Linked DNA regions of Homo sapiens: region 1 is linked to region 2. Evidence: promoter capture Hi-C in 16 types of primary human blood cells and fetal thymus (Javierre and others, 2016). All regions are on one chromosome and are shown on one strand. Each heading gives the region's core, a stretch centred on a gene start or on the middle of the fragment in contact. The rest is flanking DNA. Distances are from core to core; before and after follow the strand shown.

Region 1 (5,176 bases), core at 1,000-3,499, 660 kb after region 2:
TGAAAGGAAAAGTTTTCACCTTGCTTTTTGTACTAATAATATATCCTGGAAATCATTCTATATAAATTTATAGAAATCTTCATTTTTAAAATAGCTTCATAAAACTCCATTGTAAAAACCAGGTGCAGTGGCTCATGCTTGTAATCCCACACTTTGGGAGGCCAAGGCGGGTGGATCACCTGAGGTCAGGAGTTCAAGGCCAGCCTGGCCAACATGGTGAAACTCCGTCTCTACTAAAAATACAAAAATTAGCTGGGTGTGGTGGTGGGCGCCTGTAGTCCCAGCTACTTGGAAGGCTGAGGCAGGAGAATTGCTTGATTTCAGGAGGCGGAGATTGCAGTGAGCTGAGATTGCGCCACTGCACTCCAGCCTGGGCTACAGAGCGAGACTCCGTCTAAAAAAAAAAAAAAGCAAAAAAAAAAACTCCATTGTATGTGCACATATCATTATCTGTTCAACCCATCTATGACTTGTCATTTAGGTAGTTTCCATCCAATATTTTTGCAATATAAAAAATGCTAATGAAGAACCTGAGATATATATATATCTATATATATAGATATATATGTTTGTTGTTGTTGTTGTTATTTTTGAAGTATGTACGTATAATAAATTCCTAATAGTGTGATTGCTGCATCATAAGGTAAAGGCATATGTAGTTTTGTTAAATATAGCTATTCCCCATCTTGCATTCCTACAAATAGATGAGAATGTCCATTGTCCCATAGTCTCCTTTGCAGAGTATATTGTCAAGCTTTTTAATTGTTGCCAACCTGATGGGTAAAAAGATATCTCCAAATAATTTTAATTAAAATTTCTCTTATTATGAATGAGGTTAAATAGTTTTTCATATGTTTAAAAGCCAGTTTATATCTTTTTGTTTTTTTAGAGACAGGAATCTTGTTCTGTTGCCCAGGCCAAATTGCAGTGATGCAGTCATAGCTCACTGTAGCCTCGCACTCCTGGGCTCAAGCAATCCTCCTACCTTAGCCTCCCAAGTAGCTAGGACTACAGATGGATGCCACCATGTCCAGCTAATTTTTTTATTTTTTTGTAGAGATGTGAGGTCTCACTATGTTGCCCAGGCTTGTCTTGAACTACTGGCTTCAAGTGATCCTCCCACCTCAGCCTCCCAAAGTGCTAAGATTACAGCCATGAACCACCACAAATGACCCTATATATTTTTTTGAATTGTCTGTTCATGTCTTATTTTCATTTTTCTAGTAGTTTTTTTTTTAAGTGTTTTAGCCTAAATTTGTAAAAAGTTTAGGGGATATATGAAGGGACTCTAAATGTTTATGAAGAAATTTAATTAAAAGATAAAAATAAAAATATAAGCTTTATTTTTCAACATGAGCTCCATCAAGTTCAAGGCACTTTTGTAAGCAATGATACTAGCCATTTAGTTCACCCCTAAAGAACTGAGAGTCCTGGGAATTTAGCCATGTCAATGCAGTATTTTTTATATTGGTTACTGAAGAAAAAATGGGTGCCCTTTAAAGTTGTAAGATTAGGAACAAAAACAAGTCAGAAGAAGCCAAATCAGCACTGAAAGGTGGGCACTTAATGATTACCCAAGAAAACTCTCACCAAATTGCCCTTGCTTCATGAGAGGAATGAGCGGGAGCATTGTCGTGGTCAGGAAGGATTCTGGGGAAGTTTTCCCAGGCATTTTTTCTGCTGAAGCTTTGGTAACTTTCTCAAAACACTCTCATAATAATCAGATCTTATCACTCTTTGGCCCTCCAGGAAGTCAACCAGCAAAATGCTTTGAACATCCCAAAAAAGCGCTTGCCATGACATTTGCTCTTGACCAGTCTGCTTTTGCATTGGTCAAATGCCACCACTTCCACCTCTTGTGCTTTGTTTTCAGGATCAGACTGGTAAAGTCATGTTTCATCTCTTGTTACAGTTTTTTTTTTTTTAAGAAACCCTTCAGGATCTTGATCACATTTGTTTAAAATTTCAACTGAGGCTGGGCCCAGTGGCTCATGCCTGTAATCCCAGCACTTTGGGAGGCCGAGGCGGGCAAATCACGAGGTCAGGATTTCGAGTCCATCCTGGCTAACATGGTGAAACCCCATCTCTACTAAAAATACAAAAAATTAGCCGGGCATGGTGGCAGGCACCTGTAGTCCCAGCTACTCGGGAGGGTGAGGCAGGAGAACGGCATGAACCCAGGAGACGGAGCTTGCAGTGAGCTGATATCATGCCACTGCACTCCAGCCTGGGCAACAGAGTGAGACTCCAGCTCAAAAAAAAAATCAAGTGAAAACTCTGGTCTTAAACTGCAGCTGATCTATTTTATTTTTATTTTTTTTCAGACACAGCCTTGCTCTGTTACCCAGGCTGGAGTGCAGTGGCACCATCATGGCTCAATGCAGCCTTGGCCTCGTGAGCTCAAGCAATCTTCCCACCTCAGGCTCCCAAGTAGCTGGGACTACAGGCACATGCTACCATGCCTGGATAATTTTTTTGCAGCTAATCTAGATGTAATGGTTTTGGCACCCATCTAATGGAAAGTTTGCTCAACTTTAATTTTTCAGTCAGAATTGTGTAAGCTGAACCGAGATGTCTATGGTGTTGGCTATTGTTTCTGCTGTTAATTGTAGGTCTTCTTTAATTAGAGCACAGACAAGATCATTTTTTTTCCTCCCAAATTGATGTAGATGGTCTTTTGCTGTGGGCTTCATCTTCAACATTGTCTCATCCCTTCTTAAAACAAGCTAGCTACTTGTAAACTGCCGTTTTCTTTGGAGCATTGTCTCCATAAACTTTTCACAAAACATCAGTGATTTCACCGTTCTTCCACTCAAGCTTCATCATAAATTTGATGTCTGTTCTTGTTTCCATTTTAGCAGAATTCATGTTACTCTGATAGGGGCTCTTTTCAAACTGTTATCTTATTCTTCTTAGTGCCTCAAACTAGATCCTATTCAGACATGGTATAACAAGTTAGTATGGGTTTATTTTGGTGCAAGAAATATTTTGAAATCCACACATTTTTTTCATAATATGCATTTTCCATGAAGTTTTTGAAAACTCCTTGTATTAGGAATATTAGTCCTTTGTCCAGTAAACAGACTGCAAATATTTTCTCACAGCTCATCATTTACCTTTTGGCATTTTTTTGCAATGCAATTTTTTTCCCTTTGTTTTTGTTTTTTGTGTAATGAATCAATGTTTTCTTTTTTTTTTTTTTTTAGACCAAGTCTCACTCTGTCACACAGGCTGGAGTACAATGGTGCAATCTCAGCTCACTGCAACCTCTGCCTCCCAGGTTCAAGTGATTCTCATCTCTCAGCCTCCCAAGTAGCTGGGATTACAGGCACATGCCACCATGCCTGGCTAATTTTTGTATTTTTAGTAGAGATGGGGTTTCACCATGTTGGCCAGGCTGGTCTCGAACTCTTGACCTCAAGTGATCCACTCACCTCGGCCTCCCACAGTGCTGGGATTAGAGACGTAAGCCACTGCCCCCGGCCAAATCAACGTTTTCTTATATTGCATTTAGGTTTTAAGTCATAGTTAGAAAGCCTTTCCCCACACCTAGGTTATAGAAACATTCATTACTTTTTTCTTCCAGTGCTAGTACTTGCATGGTTTTTGGTTTCCACATTTAGATCCCTGATCTAATTGGAGTTTATTCTTTTGTGTGCTGAGATATGGATCTGATTATATCTTTTTTCCCAAATGGCTATCCAGTTGTCCCAATGCCATTTATTAAGCACTTCATCTTTGTCCCAGTGATTTGAGATAGCATCTTTATCATGTACCAAACTTCTATAGTGCCAGAAGATTTTTATTTTTTTTAGACAGGGTCTGGCTCTGTTGCCCAGGCTGGAGTGTAGTGGCACAATCCCAGCTCGCTGCAACCTCCGCCTCACATGCTCAAGTGCCCGCACCTCAGCCTCTCAAGTAGCTGGGACTACAGGCACATGCCACCACACCAGGCTGATTTTTATATTTTTTTGTAGAATGAGATTTCACCATGTTGCCCAGGCTGGTCTCAAACTCCTGAGCTCAAGAAATCCGCCCACCTCAGCCTCCCAAAATGCTAGGATTACAAGCATGAGCCACCACACCCGGCTGCCAGAAAATTTTAATGATCAGAAAACCACAATTCTTTCTTCCTCTGTTATATGTTGAAGTAAAATACTTCATTTAGAAAACTAAGCCGGGCACAGTGGCTCACACCTGTAATCCCAGCACTTTGGGAGGTTGAGGCAGGCAGATCACCTGAGGTTAGGAGTTTGAGACCAGCCTGGCCAACATGGTGAAACCCTGTCTCTGCTAAAAATAGAAAAATTTGCTGGGCATGGTGGCGGGTGCCTGTAATTCCAGCTACTTGGGAGGATGAGGTAGGAGAATTGCCTGAACCTGGGAGGCAGAGGTTGTGGTGAGCCGAGACCACGCCATTGCACCCCAGCCTGGGCAACAAGAGCAACGGTAAACTCCATCTCAAAAAAAAAAAAAAAAAAAGAAAGAAAAAAGAAATAACTCAGCCATACAAGGCTACCCATTTGGTGAGAACTAATAATAAGTTAGATAGCAAGGTAATAGCAAAATGTGGGTGCAAAATTAAAGCAAGTTATTTCTGAGGAGAATGTAGGTCTCATGGAAGATTTTCATGTGGACAAATTTAGTAAATTTTTTGCAGGTAGTTTCCTGACATATTTAACATTTGTGATATAGTAAACAATAAGAAGGTACTAAAGGCTGGGCGCGGTGGCTCACGCCTGTAATCCCAGCACTTTGGGAGGCCGAGGTGGGCGGATCACAAGGTCAGGAGATCAAGACCATCCTGGCTAACACGGTGAAACCCCGTCTCTACTAAAAATATAAAAAGTTAGCTGGGCGTGGTGGCGGGTGCCTGTAGTCCCAGCTACTCGGGAGGCTGAGGCAGGAGAATGGCGTGAACCCGGGAGGCGGAACTTGCAGTGAGCCAAGATCAAGCCACTGCACTCCAGCCTGGGCAACAGAGCGAGACTCCATCTCAAAAATAATAATAATAATAATAAGGTACTAATATGATCCAGACTAGAAGAGAATAGCACTAAAATGGGAGATGGGGTAAACCTGTGGTTTTTTTTACCTTAGGCTTTTGACTTCCAAAATTATTGTTTTTGCTGGGTGCGGTGGGTCACTCCTGTAATCCCAGCACTTTGGGAGGCCA
Region 2 (5,250 bases), core at 856-3,355:
CCATAGTGTGTCCATCTCAGGTCAGTATTTTAAAAATTTAGTTCTGTTATCAGCTTCTTGAATATAATAGAGTCAGCCAAAGTACTTGTCTTCCCAGATATGGAACTTCAATCTTCAAATCCAGCTTGCCTCTTGAAACTATTGTCTAACAAGACTCTTGGCAAAGACATTTTGAAGACTTTGGAATTTTCACTTCACAGATGTACTGATGCTATGCCAAATAAATATTGAATAGCTACCAAATAAACATTGTTTTCTATTCTGCTGCATTCCCCATCTGTACATTAAAATACCTGGTAAATGAAAATATTACAAATGAAATGGGTGAAAATGGAATTCTTCCTCCTTTTTTCCAATGTGCTTGATGTCAATGATCATTTTGTAAAAATATAGTTTGGGTCCCCACATAGTGAAAGTACTCTGGTTTCTGTTTGATTCAGAAATTTGGTGGGTTTTTTGTTGTTGTTTTGGTTTTTGTGTGTGTGTGTTTGTGTGAGTGTAGTTCTTCAATAGAGAGGGAGCGTAAAGCTATTTTCACTAGATTGATTTTTTGTTTAGACAAACAGGATGAAAATAACTTTATGGATATAGGAGGCAAGGAAAGTTTTTAAATGGCTACCATTATGTCTTTATATATTAAATTTCTTTATGTAAGAAAATGTATTGTGGTTTATTTATTGGGAAGTCTTCATTCCCCATTAATACCCAGGATGATTCAAAGATCATGATTACCAAGAATTAGAATAAAAATTAAGCTAAAACCCAAGTTTTCAACATTGAACTTGAAATACATCTTAATTGGGGAAATGTCTAGAGACTTTTTTTGTATCTTTAGAAAATCATAGAGGCTATTGAAACACCACATTTTCCCAACTAGATATGCGATCACCTTAAATTAATGCATTTTATTAGGCAATGGAAGGAAGCAAACATTTTCTGCAGGGTAAATATTTAGGAAATATTAGGTAAGTCCCTCTGAGCTATTAAACAATTAAGATACAACTATTCCCTTTAAAATATATATTCCAAAAAAGGACACACATACTCAAATGCTTATAAGAGATAAATTAATGTAATAAATGGCCCACGCGATTCCACCCTGGTGCTGCAGTTTGTAAAAGAAGAAAAAATACCTGTTCAATTGGTTTGATCATGACATTCTTCATGGGTCAGGGAAGTTTTAAGTGGTTATAAAATGGGGTAAATTGGCTTTAGAAGAGTTTAGAAATGATGTGGATTACTTATAGACAGGACAAAATGAACATGCTTGTTTATTAAAAAAAGCTATTGGAAGCAGGAAATATTCAGTTTGGCTAAAATATATAAGCACTATAGGAGAAAATAGAAGCTTAGGCACATTACATACTGGAGAACAAGCAAGTACTTATAAACTGTAAGAGTCAAAATGAGAATACCAGCGTTTCTCATGGGAGCAAATGAGTTCCAATGAATAAAATTATTTGGAATGCTTTTCCATGCAAGCTATTTGCTATAACTTCCTGCTTCCTTGCACTTTCAGCCCTGACATGACTCAAGGAAGACATCTAATTAAATGCTGATGGTCTTTGATCCTTTTATAAAACATCTGCAAATTTCCCTGTCAATAGCTTGTTCTTGGCACCAGAAGTTCCCTAGAGACCAGTCCCCTCAAGTCAACAACACCAGAAATACTAGGGTGAAGAGGGTGTTATCATTAATAAAAAAAAACCCTGGAATTCTTGGGAACACAGGAATCTGTAATGAATTTTTCTAATCAACAGTTTACAGTTACATGTTTACAAAGTGTATAGTTAGGTCTCTGTAATACTTAAAACCTGTGTTGAAAAAATTATTTCTACTGAAGTAAAAGTTGCCCCTATGGCGAAACTAAGGACCACACTCAATCAATCAGTGGTACAATGTGTACCACAGTAGTACAAAATGTATTCCTATTCTCCGAAACGACTGAAATAATAAATAAAACCAAGTAGTTTACAGTAGAGTGTGTGGGGGTTTCCACAATTGCTACTTACGGTTTGGAGCCACATGATGTCGCTCTTTACCACAAAATACATGAGAGAAGGAGGAAGAAGGGAAAATTCCTTCTATTCTTACTGGAAGGAACCATATACACTCTTTGGAGTCTGAAATATGGAGGATGCAGCTGCACTTGACTGACCGATTAAAAGATTTCCCTTGACTTTGAGAAACGATATTTAATCAGAACAAAATACTGTGCACTAAAGATGGAGTTTTCCTGGGGAAGCGGCCAGGAATCCCGGCGTCTGCTGCTCTTACTTCTTCTCCTCGCAGCCTGGGAGGCAGGGAACGGTCAGCTCCACTACTCGGTCTCCGAGGAGGCCAAACACGGCACCTTCGTGGGCCGCATCGCGCAGGACCTGGGACTGGAGCTGGCGGAGCTGGTGCCGCGCCTGTTCCGGGTGGCGTCCAAGGGCCGCGGAGGCCTTCTGGAGGTAAATCTGCAGAATGGCATTTTGTTTGTGAATTCTCGGATCGACCGGGAGGAGCTGTGCCGGCGGAGCGCGGAGTGCAGCATCCACCTGGAGGTGATCGTAGACAGGCCGCTGCAGGTTTTCCATGTGGACGTGGAGGTGAGGGACATTAACGATAACCCGCCGGTGTTCCCAGCAACACAAAAGAACCTGTCCATCGCGGAATCCAGGCCGCTTGACTCTCGGTTTCCACTAGAGGGCGCCTCGGATGCAGATATCGGGGAGAACGCCCTGCTCACTTACAGACTGAGCCCAAATGAATACTTTTCTCTGGAAAAACCACCTGATGACGAGCTGGTAAAAGGTCTTGGGCTTATATTACGGAAATCTTTAGACAGAGAAGAAGCTCCGGAGATTTTTTTAGTGCTCACAGCCACTGATGGAGGCAAACCCGAGTTGACTGGCACCGTTCAGTTACTCATCACAGTACTGGATGCCAATGACAATGCCCCAGCTTTTGACAGAACCATTTATAAGGTGAGATTACTAGAAAATGTTCCTAATGGAACATTGGTAATTAAACTTAACGCCTCAGATTTAGACGAAGGATTGAATGGGGACATTGTTTATTCATTCTCAAATGATATTTCGCCAAATGTGAAATCCAAGTTTCACATAGATCCAATTACTGGACAAATTATTGTAAAGGGATATATTGACTTTGAAGAAAGCAAATCCTATGAAATTATTGTAGAGGGCATTGATAAGGGACAGCTCCCACTTTCTGGCCATTGTAGAGTTATTGTGGAAGTAGAAGACAACAACGATAATGTCCCAGATTTGGAATTCAAGTCTTTATCACTTCCAATTAGAGAGGACGCTCCACTGGGTACAGTCATCGCCCTGATCAGCGTGTCCGACAAAGACATGGGTGTCAATGGGCTGGTCACCTGCTCCTTGACGTCCCACGTCCCCTTCAAGCTGGTGTCCACCTTCAAGAATTACTACTCGTTGGTGCTGGACAGTGCCCTGGACCGCGAGAGCGTGTCAGCCTATGAGCTGGTGGTGACCGCGCGAGACGGGGGCTCGCCTTCGCTGTGGGCCACGGCCAGTGTTTCTGTGGAGGTGGCTGATGTGAACGACAACGCTCCGGCGTTCGCGCAGCCCGAGTACACAGTGTTCGTGAAGGAGAACAACCCGCCGGGCTGCCACATCTTCACTGTGTCTGCGTGGGACGCGGACGCGCAGGAGAACGCGCTGGTGTCCTACTCGCTGGTAGAGCGGCGGGTAGGGGAGCGCGCGCTGTCGAGCTACGTTTCGGTGCATGCGGAGAGCGGCAAGGTGTACGCGCTGCAGCCGCTGGACCACGAGGAGCTAGAGCTGCTGCAGTTTCAGGTGACCGCTCGCGATGCCGGCGTGCCACCTCTGGGCAGCAACGTGACGCTGCAGGTGTTCGTGCTGGACGAAAACGACAACGCGCCAGCACTGCTAGCGCCTCGGGCGGGTGGCACTGGTGGCGCAGTGAGCGAGCTGGTGCCATGGTCGGTGGGTGTGGGCCACGTGGTGGCAAAGGTGCGCGCGGTGGATGCTGACTCGGGCTACAACGCGTGGCTTTCGTACGAGCTGCAGCCGGGGACTGGTGGCGCGCGCATCCCGTTCCGCGTGGGGCTGTACACTGGCGAGATCAGCACAACGCGTGCCCTGGACGAAACGGACGCTCCGCGCCACCGCCTACTGGTACTGGTGAAGGACCACGGCGAGCCCGCGCTGACGGCCACGGCCACTGTGCTGGTGTCACTTGTGGAGAGTGGACAGGCGCCAAAGGCCTCCTCACGGGCGTTGGTGGGCGCTGTGGGTCCCGATGCTGCGCTGGTGGATGTCAACGTATACCTGATCATTGCCATCTGCGCGGTGTCCAGCCTTTTGGTGCTCACGCTGCTGCTGTACACCGCGCTGCGGTGCTCTGCGCTGCCCACCGAGGGCGCGTGCGCTCCGGGCAAGCCCACGCTGGTGTGCTCCAGTGCGGTGGGGAGCTGGTCATACTCGCAGCAGAGGAGGCCGAGGGTGTGCTCTGGTGAGGGCCCACCCAAGACCGACCTCATGGCCTTCAGCCCCAGTTTACCTGACTCTAGGGACAGAGAAGATCAGCTGCAGACAACTGAGGAATCCTTTGCAAAGGTTAGTGTATAACATCCTTTTGTTTAATTTTCGTATTGTTTTTCTCTATCAACTTCTTCGTAAATTTATTTCTAAGAGTCAAATTTCCCTGGGTTAAAATTTTACCTCTTTTTACATATCCATTTTAACTAAAGTCTTTTGGAATTATAGGACATCAGAGCAATATATATTGCCTTCCTTCATTTTATGCTGCATTATTCAATGCATATTAACAGAACTGTAATTTCTAGTAAATTTTCACTATATTCACCCTCTTTGTTTTTGGTAATAATCAACATTTTAGAAAACATTTTACTATTATTTAACCTATTACATATAAACAAATGTGCACAGGCTGAAATAATAAAGCTCCATAAATTGTATGAAAGTGAAAAGCTCCGTTGCCTCCATCGCTGAAGCCCCTCGCATGCACCTGCCAAATCACTTCCCTTATTTTTCCTCCAGTGTAACCGCACATTTGCCTTTTATAACTGTTTGTTCGGGGCCTGTTTTGGGAACGTTATCTAATTGGACTTGCACAACATGTATTGTCTGTGCATTTGTGTGTTATTTGTATTTATCACTCATTGTTTATGAAATTATCCATGTTGTTATATGTAGTTGTAGTTTATTTATTTCTGTTTCTAGTACTATTTCATAA

What was found. The method cuts DNA at HindIII sites, captures the fragments that hold promoters and counts their contacts. A CHiCAGO score of 5 or more calls a contact.
Region 1: a fragment that was not itself captured here is called in contact with the fragment with the promoter of PCDHA4 in region 2 in 1 of 17 cell types (erythroblasts); the score reaches 5.0 in erythroblasts.

Annotation. Positions count from the first base shown.
Region 1 is chr5:141,463,868-141,469,043 of GRCh38, forward strand. The region is part of intron 1 of PCDHGA1 (protocadherin gamma subfamily A, 1); the gene reads left to right. All of the region lies in intron 1 of PCDHGA2 (protocadherin gamma subfamily A, 2), which reads left to right. All of the region lies in intron 1 of PCDHGA3 (protocadherin gamma subfamily A, 3), which reads left to right. The region is part of intron 1 of PCDHGB1 (protocadherin gamma subfamily B, 1); the gene reads left to right. It also overlaps PCDHGA4, PCDHGB2, PCDHGA5, PCDHGB3, PCDHGA6 and PCDHGA7, and 10 more genes. Among named protein-coding and RNA genes, the nearest start is that of PCDHGC3, 9.5 kb to the right of the region's middle. The HindIII fragment of the contact is 1,131 bases long and covers 1,685-2,815 here.
Region 2 is chr5:140,804,963-140,810,212 of GRCh38, forward strand. PCDHA4 (protocadherin alpha 4) reads left to right here and starts at 2,106. Exons shown (of 4, transcript NM_018907.4): 1 at 2,106-4,610. The coding sequence starts at 2,226. The region is part of intron 1 of PCDHA1 (protocadherin alpha 1); the gene reads left to right. The region is part of intron 1 of PCDHA2 (protocadherin alpha 2); the gene reads left to right. All of the region lies in intron 1 of PCDHA3 (protocadherin alpha 3), which reads left to right. It also overlaps PCDHA@. The HindIII fragment of the contact is 11,768 bases long and covers 1,347-5,250 here.